Linked DNA regions of Homo sapiens: region 1 is linked to region 2. Evidence: promoter capture Hi-C in human tissues and cell types (Jung and others, 2019). All regions are on one chromosome and are shown on one strand. The core of a region is centred on a gene start or on the middle of the fragment in contact, and the rest is flanking DNA. Distances in the headings are between cores, read along the strand shown. Region 1 overlaps ZBTB40 (zinc finger and BTB domain containing 40). Region 2 holds the start of C1QA (complement C1q A chain).

What was found. Contacts are between HindIII fragments. The study calls those that stand out against the background at their distance.
Region 1: a fragment that was not itself captured here is called in contact with the fragment with the promoter of C1QA in region 2 in 5 of the 25 tissues and cell types used here (H1 embryonic stem cells, aorta, hippocampus and 2 more).

The regions. Positions count from the first base shown.
Region 1 is chr1:22,504,280-22,510,714 of GRCh38, reverse strand. ZBTB40 (zinc finger and BTB domain containing 40) reads right to left here. Exons shown (of 18, transcript NM_014870.4): 6 at 4,474-4,666; 7 at 2,578-2,714; 8 at 1,984-2,185; 9 at 1,482-1,615. Among named protein-coding and RNA genes, the nearest start is that of ZBTB40, 56 kb to the right of the region's middle. The HindIII fragment of the contact is 3,059 bases long and covers 1-3,031 here.
Region 2 is chr1:22,630,882-22,637,877 of GRCh38, reverse strand. C1QA (complement C1q A chain) reads right to left here and starts at 1,250. Exons shown (of 3, transcript NM_015991.4): 1 at 1,176-1,250; 2 at 99-268. The coding sequence starts at 261. MIR6127 (microRNA 6127) reads left to right here and starts at 4,512; the gene lies at 4,512-4,620. The HindIII fragment of the contact is 11,741 bases long and covers 1-2,253 here.

The DNA of each region.
Region 1 (6,435 bases), core at 253-2,752, 130 kb after region 2:
TTAGATGTACCCATTTAAACGTCATTTTCTTTCACAAAGAAACTCAGCGTTTTAAAGAAGGTTCAAATAGAAGCTTTAAAGAGTCCAAGAATATTATTTCAAAGCCGTCGTCCTCTTTCAGAATGTTAGAGCTATCAGCAGAAAGAGTCGGTACACTGAGAAAATAAAGCTAAACCATCCACAGATGGCCAAACGGAATTTTCATTTTGGAAGATATTTTATTTCTGCTCTTTTCAAGTCTATCTAAATAAACCTGATGTCCCTGGAGGCAGGCATGAGACTAATTAGTGAGGCTAAAACTGATCAACTGCAGAAGCCCCATCTCTGAAGTTACGGCGTGCTGGAGAGAGTCTAACAGATGAGTCTTTCCTCTGAAGCCCCACAGAAATGTGTGCCATCTTCTTCCCATCTGAGTCAGACCAACATGTGGCTGTCACCTGCACAGAGAGAGTTAGAAACCCGCCCTTCTGCACACCTTCCACACCTACCTGAATCAAAAGGGCACTACATTTGAATCTGTAGTTTAATTTCATGTTCCTTTCTTGTTCTTCCCCACTCAGGATGCAAATGATCCTGGGCTGGACACCCATGAGTTCCCCCAGTCCCCACTTGGTATTCCTGGGATGCTGGCCACATTGTGTGAAGGCTTACAGAAAATGAGCTGGCACTATTTGCTACCCAATATGGGCAAAAGCTTTGTTTTATCTATGTTTATCTTGGCTCTTTCTAGAAGCCAGAATAGAACATGTAATAAGACCAGTTTTACTTTCCTTCATCTGAGAGAAGCTGCTTCTTAGAACAGGTAAGAGAACAGTATCATGGCTCCAGGGGATACCAGGTTTAGATAAATGGAATAAATTGGTTTGAGTCATAGGAAGCTGGGTTCAAATCCTGACATCATCTCCTCCCTGCCAGAGCATTTTAGACAGGTAACTTAACCCTTTGGGGCCTGAGAACCCTTGTCTATAAAATGTGATAACATCACCTGCCATGTAGAGCTGGAAGGATTAAAAGAGCAAACGTGTTAGGAAGCATTAGCCTAGCAAGGGGTACAGATATTGGTTCTGGCCAGGCACAGTGGCTCACGCCTGTAATCCCAGCACTCTGGCAAAGCTGAGATGGGTGAATCACTTGAGGCCAGGAGTTCGAGACCAGCCTGGCCAACATGGCGAAACCCCGTCTCCACTAAAAATACAAAAAATTAGCAGGGCACGGTGGTGCGCACCTGTAATCCCAGTTACTTGGGAGGCTGAGGCAGGAGAATCGCTTGAACCCGGAAGGCAGAGGTTGCCATGAGCCAAGATCGTGCCACTGCACTGCAGCCTGGGCGACAGAGCAAGACTCTGTCTCAAAAGAGAAAAAGGAAAAAAAAAGAAGGAAAAACAACCCAACCAACTATTGGTTCCTCTCTTAGGAATGAAGACAGTCCCAGGCAACAACTGTAAAACTCTCTGGCATTTCGCTTTTTATTCCCACCACACCTCTTTCACAGTCTCTGCCAGGTGCTCCTCCTCCGAGGTAAAGAGCTTGTACTCAATCTTCTGTTGGATGGCCTCCAAGATCAACTGGTTATGCCTCAGGATTGTTTCTAAAGTGGCATGTTCTGGGGTGGTCACTGAAAAAAAGGGGGATCAAAAACTCATTAGGCAAACAATGAGCACCATTTTTTCCTACACCCTTCCTCCACTCAACTCTTCATAATGAAAATGCATTTCCCCTATCTCCTATCTGAGGTTGGCAGTGGGGAAAACGGCAAATAGCACTGTAATCAGAGTATAATAATGAATGTAAGCTTAAGATAATTACTGGATCTATTTTTTAAAAGGTTTACAAACTCTTGTGTCCTTGAACAAAACTGCCAGTCCTTACTTCTAATAGTAGGGATGTAGGTGACTACCGTTAAGAGAGCTCTTCCTATTTTCTAGGAAGACTGACAGTCATCTCTAGTGGGGGCAAAACCCCCCCAGAGGGCAGGTAACTTACCTGCCCGGAAGAAAGCATCGGCACCAGGCTCCCTTCGTATTTCCTCCATGAGCAGGTCCAATGGACAGGTCTTTGTCTCCTGAACCACCAGCAGCAGTTGCCAAATGGCTGTGGCAGAGAGAGTCTGCTTTTCTAGAACTGCTGATATCAGAGAATTGAAACCACCTGAACCAGAGTCACGTTTCACAAGCTTCTCCATGACCTTCAAGATGTAACACAAACACTCACGTAAGAGACTCTCCAGCCACTAGCCCAGCTGCAGAGCTGCAAGTCTAGATATTGGGTTACAGTGAATATGTTTGGGGAAGGAGTTTTTCAACATCCTCACCTCTCAGTCTGAGAGATTTCTTATACATGACAAAGTTCTTCATTTCTCCTTTTGAATGCCTTTCCTTATTACCACAGAAATTAGAACTATTCTATTTGTTATTCCACCTTAGAAACTGAGATACCTTCTATTTCTCCTCTACTTAGCAATTCTCAACATGGCTACATATGTATATTTACAGAAAATATAAATGTGTGTGTGTATTCATATTTTTTCCTTCTTTCTCATTTTACCCTCCCCTCCCTCTGTTTCTCTCCCTCTCTTACCTCTCTTTCTCCAGGGGCTAAACTTGTCATGTGTGAGATCATCTTTAATAAAATCTGGTTGTCTGTGAAAATCTCAGAGAGGTTTTCATGATAGCGTCTCAATAGCTCAGTCCCATAATCATCAGGGCTTGGTTGGACTGTAAGGATATTAGCAAAACAATAATGTTTGATGCAACAAAACCTCCTACAGAAGACTCCAGGATATTACCAATGAGAGAGGAAGAGAGCAATCAGCACAAGGGCTCAGTGTCCTCTGCAGAGCCCTGGCTTGGGGCCTCATACACATATGTTCAGAGCTCCTCTGCCTACACTTAATCGCTTGGCGCTTCAGGGTCATAAAGCCGTTAACGCTTTGAAAGTCAGTGCCTGGTGGTAGGAGCTAGCAATTGCTCACCAGGGGGGTAATTAGAAGGCTGTACTTGTAAGAGACTCAGATGTGCAGGTTCAAGGGGGGGTGTTTGTCAAGCCTGAGGTAGAGGATCCGTGTGGCGATCCTAAAGACGAGCACGAATCAAGGCTGTGCGTGTGAAGCTGACCCGTGGTTTTTCTATTTAGGTGCCCTTTGGGCCAATTTGTTAGGTTCTCTCTTTTAAGAGGTCATATTTACTTGGAAGTTAAGAAAAATTGAAACTATCAGGCATTTCTCTTAGCTTTGCAGATAATTAAAAATGTACCCTTTTCTTTAGCTCAGTAACTCCACTTCTGGAAATCCAACCTTAAGAAATTATCTGAAGGTCTTTGTCTATGTACAAAGACAACTATCAAAGCATAATCTTTGCCGATGATGACAGTGAAGACAGCAACTAATATTTACTGAATGCCCATGTGCCGGGCACAGTGCTAAATGTTTTACATGTATTATACTAGCCACACAAAAACGAATGTGATAGGTACCACCCTTACCTCATTTCACAGAGCAAATGAGGTTCAGAAAGATTAAGTCACTTGCTCAGGGTATTACAGCTACAGAATGGTGCAGTGAGGGTGCGGCCCCAGGTAGTCTTGACACCAATGCCTACAGTCCTAACCATTATGCTACATCCGCTCTGAAATAAGGGCATGAATAATACACCATATACATCCTTATGATGGAAAACTACACAGCCTTCAAAAACTAGGATTGTGGGGAGTTTTTCTGAACTGTGGAGAAGGCTGCTGCAATGTTACATGGGGAAACCATAAAATTATACAATATGAAAGTATCTCAATATTATAAAAGTGATAGATAAAACATGTCAAGGTGTTAATATTGGCATGCTTGAGTGGTAGGATTTTAAATGGTTTTCTTCCTTATATTTGGAATTGTCCAAGCTTGTGTAAGTACATACTACTTTTATAGGCTAGGAACAAATATCCTTTTTCTGAAAACCATCTGAGTCCTAAATGCTCTGGGACAGGGAAGAGTTGGCTTGAGCTGGATTGTCTTTCTAAGAAATAGGATATGGACTCATTTCCCCAAGCTGAACGGACACCAGAATAATGAGTTCTGGGGACTGCTGGAAGCAAACAGCACTCTAGTGGAAATGGGGCAATGGAGATTTGAGGCTTTGCTGCTCCTATTTGCGAATATGGCTGACACAGTGCTAAGCCTTATGAGCACATTTGCTCCTCTGGCTTTCACAGGTGATCCTGGACAGCCCTGGGAAAGCCACACGTTAATAAATCCTGAGCCACAGGAACACCATGAGGGAGCTTAACCGAGAAGAGTCACTCTCAGATTTCAGACCTTAACTCCAGAGAGATCGAGAATTATCGATTTATGACGGCTAGTTTCTATTCTGCAATGACATTTCTTAACATAATCTTATCTCCCCAGCATGGAGCCAAAAGGGTGTTTCAAGCTACAATTTTCTGGAAGAGTGGTTCCAGTCCAGAGAGTCAACAATTTACTAATACCTGTGGTGCTTGGCAAAGTGGCTGATTTCTGCAACTTCTCTAGCAGAAGGCCCAGGTTTGGGAAAGTCGTCTTCACAGCCTGGAGGAGTTTTACCAAACCCTCAGCAGTCAGCGTCTTCTCTTCAGTCATTCTGTGCAACAAATTTTCTATTGTCTCCTTGGGTGTTCTGCCCTCACAGCAATTCAGAATCACCTGCAGTGGCAAGCAATCAACCAGACACCAGTTACTGGCAATTCAACATTTATCTGACACACTACTGGAAAACCTAGCAAGATAGCATCACAAGATGCCTGATCTCCAAGTCCTCTTCTGTTGGTCTCTAGCATTACTTTTTTTCATAGTTTCTTCCTTATTCTGTTTCAATAAAAATCTTAAATATTTTCCAAACAAATAACTGTGAAAATCTTTCTTTCTCAATTGCAGGTCTGTGTATCTGCTCTGCCTCCAACAGCTTGCATTTTGTGAAAACATTCCTAAACTAGGCCTATATGATACAGCAAGTAGCCTACCTCTAACCTGGTTCTTTAGATGTGGCTTGTCTGGACGCTAAGATTGAGAAACACAGATTGATAATTAATATAGTTTAATTTTTTTGGTCTTTTTTCAGTAAAGTTCATAATATTAGCATAGGTTATAATTCCATTGTTTTACTTTACTTGCATAGTAATCTGAATACTCAGATAATTTGTATAATTAGTCTGTGGACTCCAAAATATTAGATTTAAAGTGCCTTTCTGGATTATTTTTCTTGTGGATTCCTTATTATCCATTCCTCTGATTCTCAACAGCCACATACATCAGCTCCAGTCATAATTCAGCAATTCCACTCCTTTGTCCTTCCTTGGTGTGCTAGAGGATTTTGAGTCAAAAGGGCACAGAACTCTAGCAAAAGGATGAAACTAAAACATGTGACAGATATTTTACAGATATTTTAATATTACAATAGAACTATTTCTTAATGGACTACAGCATAATATGCATAGCTTAGCTCTTATGGAACTGATAAAGCAGGGGATTATTTCAATACATGTAATCTACAGATTCACAGGAACTGAATTTTGAGCTTTCCTTTGGGAAAATGCCAGCTCCTAGTCATGGTAGTATGCCAGAGGCTGCCATTATCAAATTAACTTCCATTTTAAAATAATGATTTTAGCTTTAAAACCAAATTGGTTTTATATATATGAAAGGAATATATACATAATAAATCAAGCTGTCATATTCTTTGTCAGTACAGAACATAGTCATTCTCTTTAAGGTCTAATATATAGATTTCTACTAAATAAATCATAATTTAAAAATTAAGAGCTTGTATCTAAACACCATACTGATTTCAGAGCTAAATCTTGGTTCCTAAGCAATAATCTGATATACAAAGAGGCAGCCAGATACTGGTAAGAGTAAGCATAGGCTTTAAAGCCAGACAGACCTAGTTCAAATTGCAGTTCTAATATTTATTGCCTGTGTGACCTTGGGCAAGTTATTTAATTCTTCAAGCCTTATTTTCCTCACTTGCAAAAGAAGATAATACCAACTCTTGCACAGTTGTTACTGTAAAATGAAGGTGCTGTTCATAGGGCCTTGCCTAACTCCTAGGACACATGTGATCTTTAAGAAATGACTATGTTATTGATATGATTAGGGAGAAGTACTCATAGGGGTTAAGAGAATGTGCTTGGATTAGAAGTCTAATTCTTATTACCAGCCCCAAACAGCTGTGTCTTTGGGTGAGCTGCTTCACCTCCCTATGCTCTGTTTCTTCATCTTTAAAATAAGAGTAATATCCATGATGTCATAAAGTTGCTATGAGGGCAAAACTTAATAATGTTTAAAAAGTCCTCAGCACACTGCCTGGCACACAGTAAGCAATAAATAAATGACAGCTATAGTAATTACCTTTTTTTTCTGTTTCCAGTCCTCATGTAAATATGTTCCTGGTTACTGCTTCTTACAAAACCCAA
Region 2 (6,996 bases), core at 1-2,500:
AGACGGACTCCTGATTCTCAGTGCCACCCCAAGCCTTCACCCTGGAGGCCAAGTCAGGCCAAGGTCCAAGGGGCTGGGTCCCGAGGAAGGGTGCTTACCCGGCTCCCCTTGCTCCCCCTTGAGGCCTGGCCGCCCCCGTCTGCCAGGTCTTCCTGCCTCCCCTTTCTTCCCGTCTGGTGCTCGGCACAAGTCCTCGGTCACCATAGAGGCCAGCGATATGGCCAGCACACAGAGCACCAGCCATCCCCGGGGACCCTCCATGATGCCTCTGTGGAGACACGGGAGGGCCTGGGCAGGTTGGACATCACACTCACACCCAGCTCCCACCCTTGAGTCCCATGCACACAATGATATATGCACAGTCCTCCCCAAGTGCACATGCACCCTCTGGGGCTCTCAATGTCCACTCTCAATCCAGCCCCAGGACCCCACGCATATACACAGAACCACAAACTCACACACATCCACACATGCAACAGAGCACACCCACATCTTCACACACTCACACAAACACAGCTCTCATCCACGCACCTACAAAACACAGTAGGCAAACTCAGAAATCCACTATACCCCCCTAGACACACAACTGATACCCAAATAGACCCTGTCCCTCACTTGCACGGACACACACATTCATACACTCCCACAGGTAATCGATTTCATTGAACAAATATGTATTGAGCGCCTGCTCCTTATTTAATTAACACTGGCTCACCCAGATGGTGGAGCTCTGCATACACACAGGAATTCACAAACGCCCAAAGCGACACCTGCTCACTCTTCTGCATGCTCAGCGCCTTTCAGCATCCACCTGAGCATGGGTGACTGGCTGCCCCTACAGTCCCCTCTGCTGGGTCCCACTGCCAGCTCTAGCACCCCAGGCTTTTCCTGGTTTCTTATGTGTTATGGGGCCAGGACCCAGGAACCCTGGTCTTACCCTTCAGTTGTTAGGTCTAACTCATCGCCTCTCACCCTCCCCCAAGCCCTGGCTCAAGGAGTTAAGGTCCCTCCACTCACCCATTCTGGGTCCTGGATCAGTGCTGCACCCCCATCCCTGTCCTAGAATCAGGCACAGTTATTTCCCTCCCTCCCTGCCTCAGCTGCCCAGCCTCCTGGGCCAGCTCCCCTGGGTCCCAGAACTCTGCAGCCCCCTCCCTCTGGGACTCTGGCCTCACCTGCCTCCTGTTGTCAACTCCAACTGGATGCTCCTGCCCTCCGCCCAGGGACCCTGTGGGCTGCCCAGCAGGAGTGGCTCCAGGCTGTGGCCAAGTTTCACATCCCTTCCTACTTCCCCTTCTTCAGACCTGCCCCCTGAACTTCCCCAGTGGCCAGAAGCTCACCAGGGACATTTCAAGCAGACTTCAGCAAGACTGGGACATTGGGCGTCCTGCCCCAGCAACAGCTGGTGTGGGAGTGGGGGCAGTGAGGCCAGTGCCTGTGAGGATGTGGGGTGGAGGCCGTGCAGGGTGAGGTTCTGAGAACCAGCGAAGCACAGAACACCAGAGCGGAAGGAATCTTTAAAAAAATCTGTCCCTTGTAGGACTTTTCATGATTATGAAAGTGACATGCAATTCATTGCCAAAAGCTTGGAAAATACAAAGAAGAAAGAACAGTGCATTGGTGAGAAGGAAGCACAGCAATCTGTTTCTAGACTTGCTGCTTCCTAGTTGCATGTCTTTGGGAAATTACTTGACCTCCTGAGCCCTCAGTTTTATCTGTACACTGGGAACGGGGTCCTATATCATCTGATTATTATAACATTTTAATGACTTGCACATACAAAACACTTGGCACATGGTGAACACTTAGTCACTAGCTTTTGCCAACATTTAAAAAAACAGCAAGTCTAGGTGCTTTGGCTCACGCCTGTAATCCCAGCATTTTGGGAGGTCAAGGCAGGCGGATCACTTGAGGTCAGGAGTTCGAGACCAGCCTGGCCAACATGGTGAAACTCCATCTCTACTAAAAATTTAAAAAATAGCCAGGTGTGGTAGCATGCACCTGTGTAGTCCCAGCTATTTGGGAGGCTGAGCTGGGAGGATTGCTAGAGCCCAGGAGGTTGAGGCTGCAGTGAGCTTTGATCTTACCACTGCACTCCTGCCTGGGAGACAGAACAAGACCCCATCTCAAAAAAAAAAAAAAAAAAAAGAGATGGCAATGGCGGGCCGTCTGGAATGGCTGCTGTCATCACACTGGCTGCAGCAGGGAGGCACGGCCAGGGCTGCATGCTCCATGTAGCCAGTGGGAGCTGGGGACAGTGGGAACCCCGCCCTCCTGGGAACCACTGCAGCTGCCAAACCACAGCTGATCCTGCTTCATGGAGCAGGTGGGGGCCCCCGCCATCCCCCATGCAGCTGCAGCTGCCTAAACTGCAGCTGTGGACCCAGGCATCCCTGCAATCTTGGGGGCCCGGGAAGGCCCCCCGCCCCACCCTTCAGGCTCAGAAGTGTCTGCTCCCACTGCCTGGCTTCTCCCTCCTCTTGGCGCCCACTCTGATCTTAGAGCAAAGTTGGTGCTGAGCCTGGGTGCTGTCGCAGCCTGGCTGGGTGTGGGCATGCTTGGGGCAGTGCTGACACACTAGACCCCTGCTGCCTTGGCCCCCTCTGGACTTTGGGCACTGACTAGCATGGAAGGAAAGCCAAGGGGAAACTGAGGGCAGCTCGGCACTGGCCTGCAGACGCTCCTTGGCATGAACAGCCTGGGCACCATGAACAGCAGCAGGAGACAGACAGGCTCCTGGGTGGAAGGGGATGGGTCCCTGGTGAGGCCCTACCTTCAAGCCAGGGAGGGCCTCAAGGCTGGGGGCCAGGCTGCCAGTCCCACACACCAGAGTGGGAACTTATGGTGTATTTTCTGGGCTTGCCTATAGCCACCCATGGACCAATCAGTATGCACTTCCTCCTCTCTGAGGCTCATGAAAGCTTCAGGCTCAGCCAGAGCTGGGCAGACATTGGATGACCAGCTGCCGAGAGGAGCTACCCGCTCCAGGGCCTCCTCTCTGCTGAGAGCTGCAGAGATGGCAGAACAACTTGCCTGCAGAAAGGAGCTTCCCATTCCAGGGTCTTCCCTCTTCTGAGAGCTGGAAAGTCGACAGGATGACCTGCCTGCAGAGAGGAGCTTCCCATTCCAGGGTCTCCTCTCTGCTAGCAGCTGAACACTCATCAGGACACCCTGGCTGTGGAAAGGAGCTGCCCCCTGAGGGAGGCTCTGCAGGAGGCTGAGCTGTTCTATCGCTCAGTAAAGCTCCTCTTCGTCTTGCTCACTCCCCACTTGTCTGCATACCTCATTCTTCCTGGTTGCAGGATAAGAACTTGGGACCCATCAAATGGTGGGGCTGAAAGAGCTGTAACACAAACAAGGCTGAAACATGCCCCTTGCTTGCCATGATGCAGGTGAAGGGAAGGAAAGAAGAGCTGCGGCCCTCTGGGGAACCCAGACCTGGGAGCTCCCCAAGCTGGAGCTGTGACTCCCTTTTCGGGGCCCTGTGGTTCCTGGCATCTCGAAGCTTCTGGGTGCCACCGTGTTCCCCGGTGCCAGCTGTGGAAGCTGCTTGTGGTGTACTTGGTCTAGCCACAACCTCTCAGAGAGCTGGCGCCCATGCTGGCACCTGGAGCTGCTCACCCCGCTGCAGCAGCCGGCATGTCTGACTGTGTGCAGTGGCCAGACCCCATGTTCACTCACACACCCTTCACTGTTCCATGCCTGACTTGCCCTGGGCAGATGTGGAACCCAGGCTGGTAATGTGAGCTGAGTGCTGCCTGCCAGGAGGAGTGAGTGAAACAAGCCCAGTGGGCCTGAGCAAAACTTGGGCAAAGGTGCCACCAGCCACAGAGGTTTCCGGCCAGAAAATGACACCCCAAAGATCCTGTAACACCATCTCAAAAAAAAACAAAAAACAAAACCCAGCAACAAAAGCCTGTGAATTCTACCATCTAGAGACAATTGCTGCTAGTGTTTGAACAGATCATCTAGCCTTACTCACCTTAACTGATGGGATGCTCATTACCTGTCAGCACGGCACACTGCATCATTGTCAGCTTGGACCCTGAGAATGCTTTTCTTTAGATAGAGAGGCTCTGTCTCTCCCAGACTGGAGACCAATGTGTTCAGGCCTGGGCTGACCACATCTGTCTGCTTCTTCTCATGAGCATGTTTTTGTTTGTTTGTTTGTTTTCTGAAAATTTTGCCAGAGGCAGGAGGAGGAAAAGAGGAGGAGGAGGGAGGAGATAAGGGAAGGCTGTTGAAGTGGGCAGATGAAGGATGGTCTAGAGCCAGGGTTTTTGAGCTTTGGGGACTTCTTTTTCATTTGCAATCTTGTGTGGCATCTGATGTATGTCAAACAGATAAAAATGGGGATACTGGCTTGAAGGGTGGGGGCCCAGAGCTCCCCCTGACAGCCCCTCCCATGCTCCCTGGATTCAGAAAGTTCGTGGAGCTGGAATCTCATCTGCTCAGCCCATACCTAACTCACAGTGTGACCCTGGGCAAGTTATCTCATCTTTCTGAACCCCACTTTCTCCATCTACCAAGATGAGGGAGTGGGTGGGAGGTGGGAAGGCTGCCCCAAATGGCCTCTAACATCCCTTCCAGTCTCCTCCTCCTCCTCCTCCTTCTTCTTCTTTTGAGACAGAGTCTCATTTTTTTGCCCAGGTGGGAGTGTAGTGGCTGGATCTCAGCTCACTGCAACCTCTGCCTCCTGGGTTCAAGAGATTCTCCTGCCTCAGCCTTCCAAGTAGCTGGGATTACAGGCACGCATGCACCACCATGCCCAGCTAATTTTTGTATTTTTAGTAGAGACGGGGTTTTGCCATGTTGCCCAGGCTGGTCTCAAACTCCTGACCTCAGGTGATCTGTCCATCTCGGCCTCCCAAAGTGCTGGGATTACAGGCGTGAGCCACCGCGCCCAGCCCAGTATCCATCTTCTTCTTCTTCTTCTTCTTCTTTTTTTTTTTTTTTTTTTGAGACAGTCTCACTTTGTTGCCCAGGCTGGAGTGCAGTGGCTCGATCTCAGCTCACTGCAACCTCTGCCTCCTGGGTTCAAGAGATTCTCCTGCCTCAGCCTTCCAAGTAGCTGGGATTACAGGCGTGTGTGCACCACCACGCCCGGCTAATTTTTGTATTTTTAGTAGGGACGGGGTTTTGCCATGTTGCCCAGGCTGGTCTCAAACCCCTGACCTCAGGTGATCTGCCCATCTCGGCCTCCCAAAGTGCTAGGATTACAGGTGTGAGCCACCGCGCCCGGCCCAGTATCCATCTTCTTTGACTGCATTGCGTCAGCCCTGCTTGCCTGCCAGAGGAGTTAGAAACATGACATGCCCGAGGCAGAAACGCCAGCCCTGCGTGCCCTATTTTACTCTGAAGACACAAAGGACCAGAGACAAAAAAAGACTTGCCCGGGTCACACAGACAGGGGCAAGAGTTGGCAAGAGGAAAAATCAGATACTGTGAAAAGCTTCTCAAAGTCTAGTTTTCAAAATATTGAATACCCAGTTCCTATAGAAATACAGTGTGGGAATGTGTCAGTGTCCTCTTGTAGGTTGTTAATGGAGGAACCAGCTGGGTGACAAAGCTAGTTCAATGGATATGGAAAAAAATATATATGTATACCTATATATGGAGACAGAGAGAGTCAGTTAAAACAACAAGAATTCTGGAATATTCATAAAATTGCTAAATTAGATACAAAACTGGTTAGTGTTCTATAGGGCAATAAAATCATCATGTTGGGGCTATCTTCTCTATTGAAAAGAAATCATTTGCATCTCTACTAGACAAAAATAATTTGCAACTTAACAGTTTTCTACCAGTTAACAGCTATCTTTACTGAATCTGGGCTCTAATCAATAGTAAATAATAAGTCAAGCCAAGTGACATTCCCCTAGAGTGTCAGATGACCCTTAGCAGGGTTTGTTAGATACAGCTCTCATTTGACTTTGAAAGGACACCGGTTATCTATTTGCCTTATTTCCAAGTGTTGGATGATTTTACTTATCAGGCTGTTGCAAGAGTATAAACACTTCCCAAGAAATAAAAGACATCGATACTAATGCGCATATCATTAGTGTGAGAAATAAAAGGGTCAGCAATGGCCCTGTGCATGTCACAACAGGGACACCTTCAGGCGGAGAGGAAGGGCATATTCTTCCATTTCTCCAGAGCCCAGACTCCTAGACGGGAGGCAGGAGATGTGGGGAAGAGAGGAAATTCCTAGCCATGCTTGCACAGTTATGATCCATGAGGTTCAGTCTCAGAGTGGGATCAAAGGTCAAATAAATAACCAAAAAATAATTTTTAAATGACTTGAATTCTTTATGGCAGTCACATCCCATTCAAGGGTTGTGTTGCAAAATCGGCATACGAGGCAAACATTGTAAATGGTGAGTATCACCATTGTAAATGGTGGAAAAATTCTTCAAACAGCGCCACGTGAAAGACTGTATTACCGTTTCACAATAGTCTTTTGCTGTCAGTTTTGGCTCCAATAGTAGAACAGATTTCTTTTTCTTCAGTTGAGTACCAGTTGGTTAAGGTTAACCAATTCCCCCACCACTCACACACAAAGGAATTGAATCTTTGGAGACTGGAGCCACCCTTGGAGGTGAGGTGTTTAGATCATGAGGGGTTCACAGGAGCGGAGGCAGACTTGGGGACAGCAGAACTCTCCCAGCCACGGTCCCTCCAGAAATAGGCTCTTAGAAGACAGTATCCCCTGGCTGGGAGCAGTGGCTCACGCCTGTAATCCCAGCACTTTGGGAGGTCGAGGAGGGTGGATCAACTGAGGCCGGGAGTTTGAGTCCAGCCTGACAAACATGGATAAACTCTGTCTCTACTAAAAGTATAAAATTAGTTGGCCTAGTGGCACATGCCTGTAATCCCTGCTACTCGGGAGGCTGAGGCAGGAGAATTGCTTGAACCCAGGAGGTGGAGGTTGCAGTGAACCAAGATCAGGCCATTGCACTTCAGCTTGGGCGACAAGAGTGAAACTCCGTCTCAAAA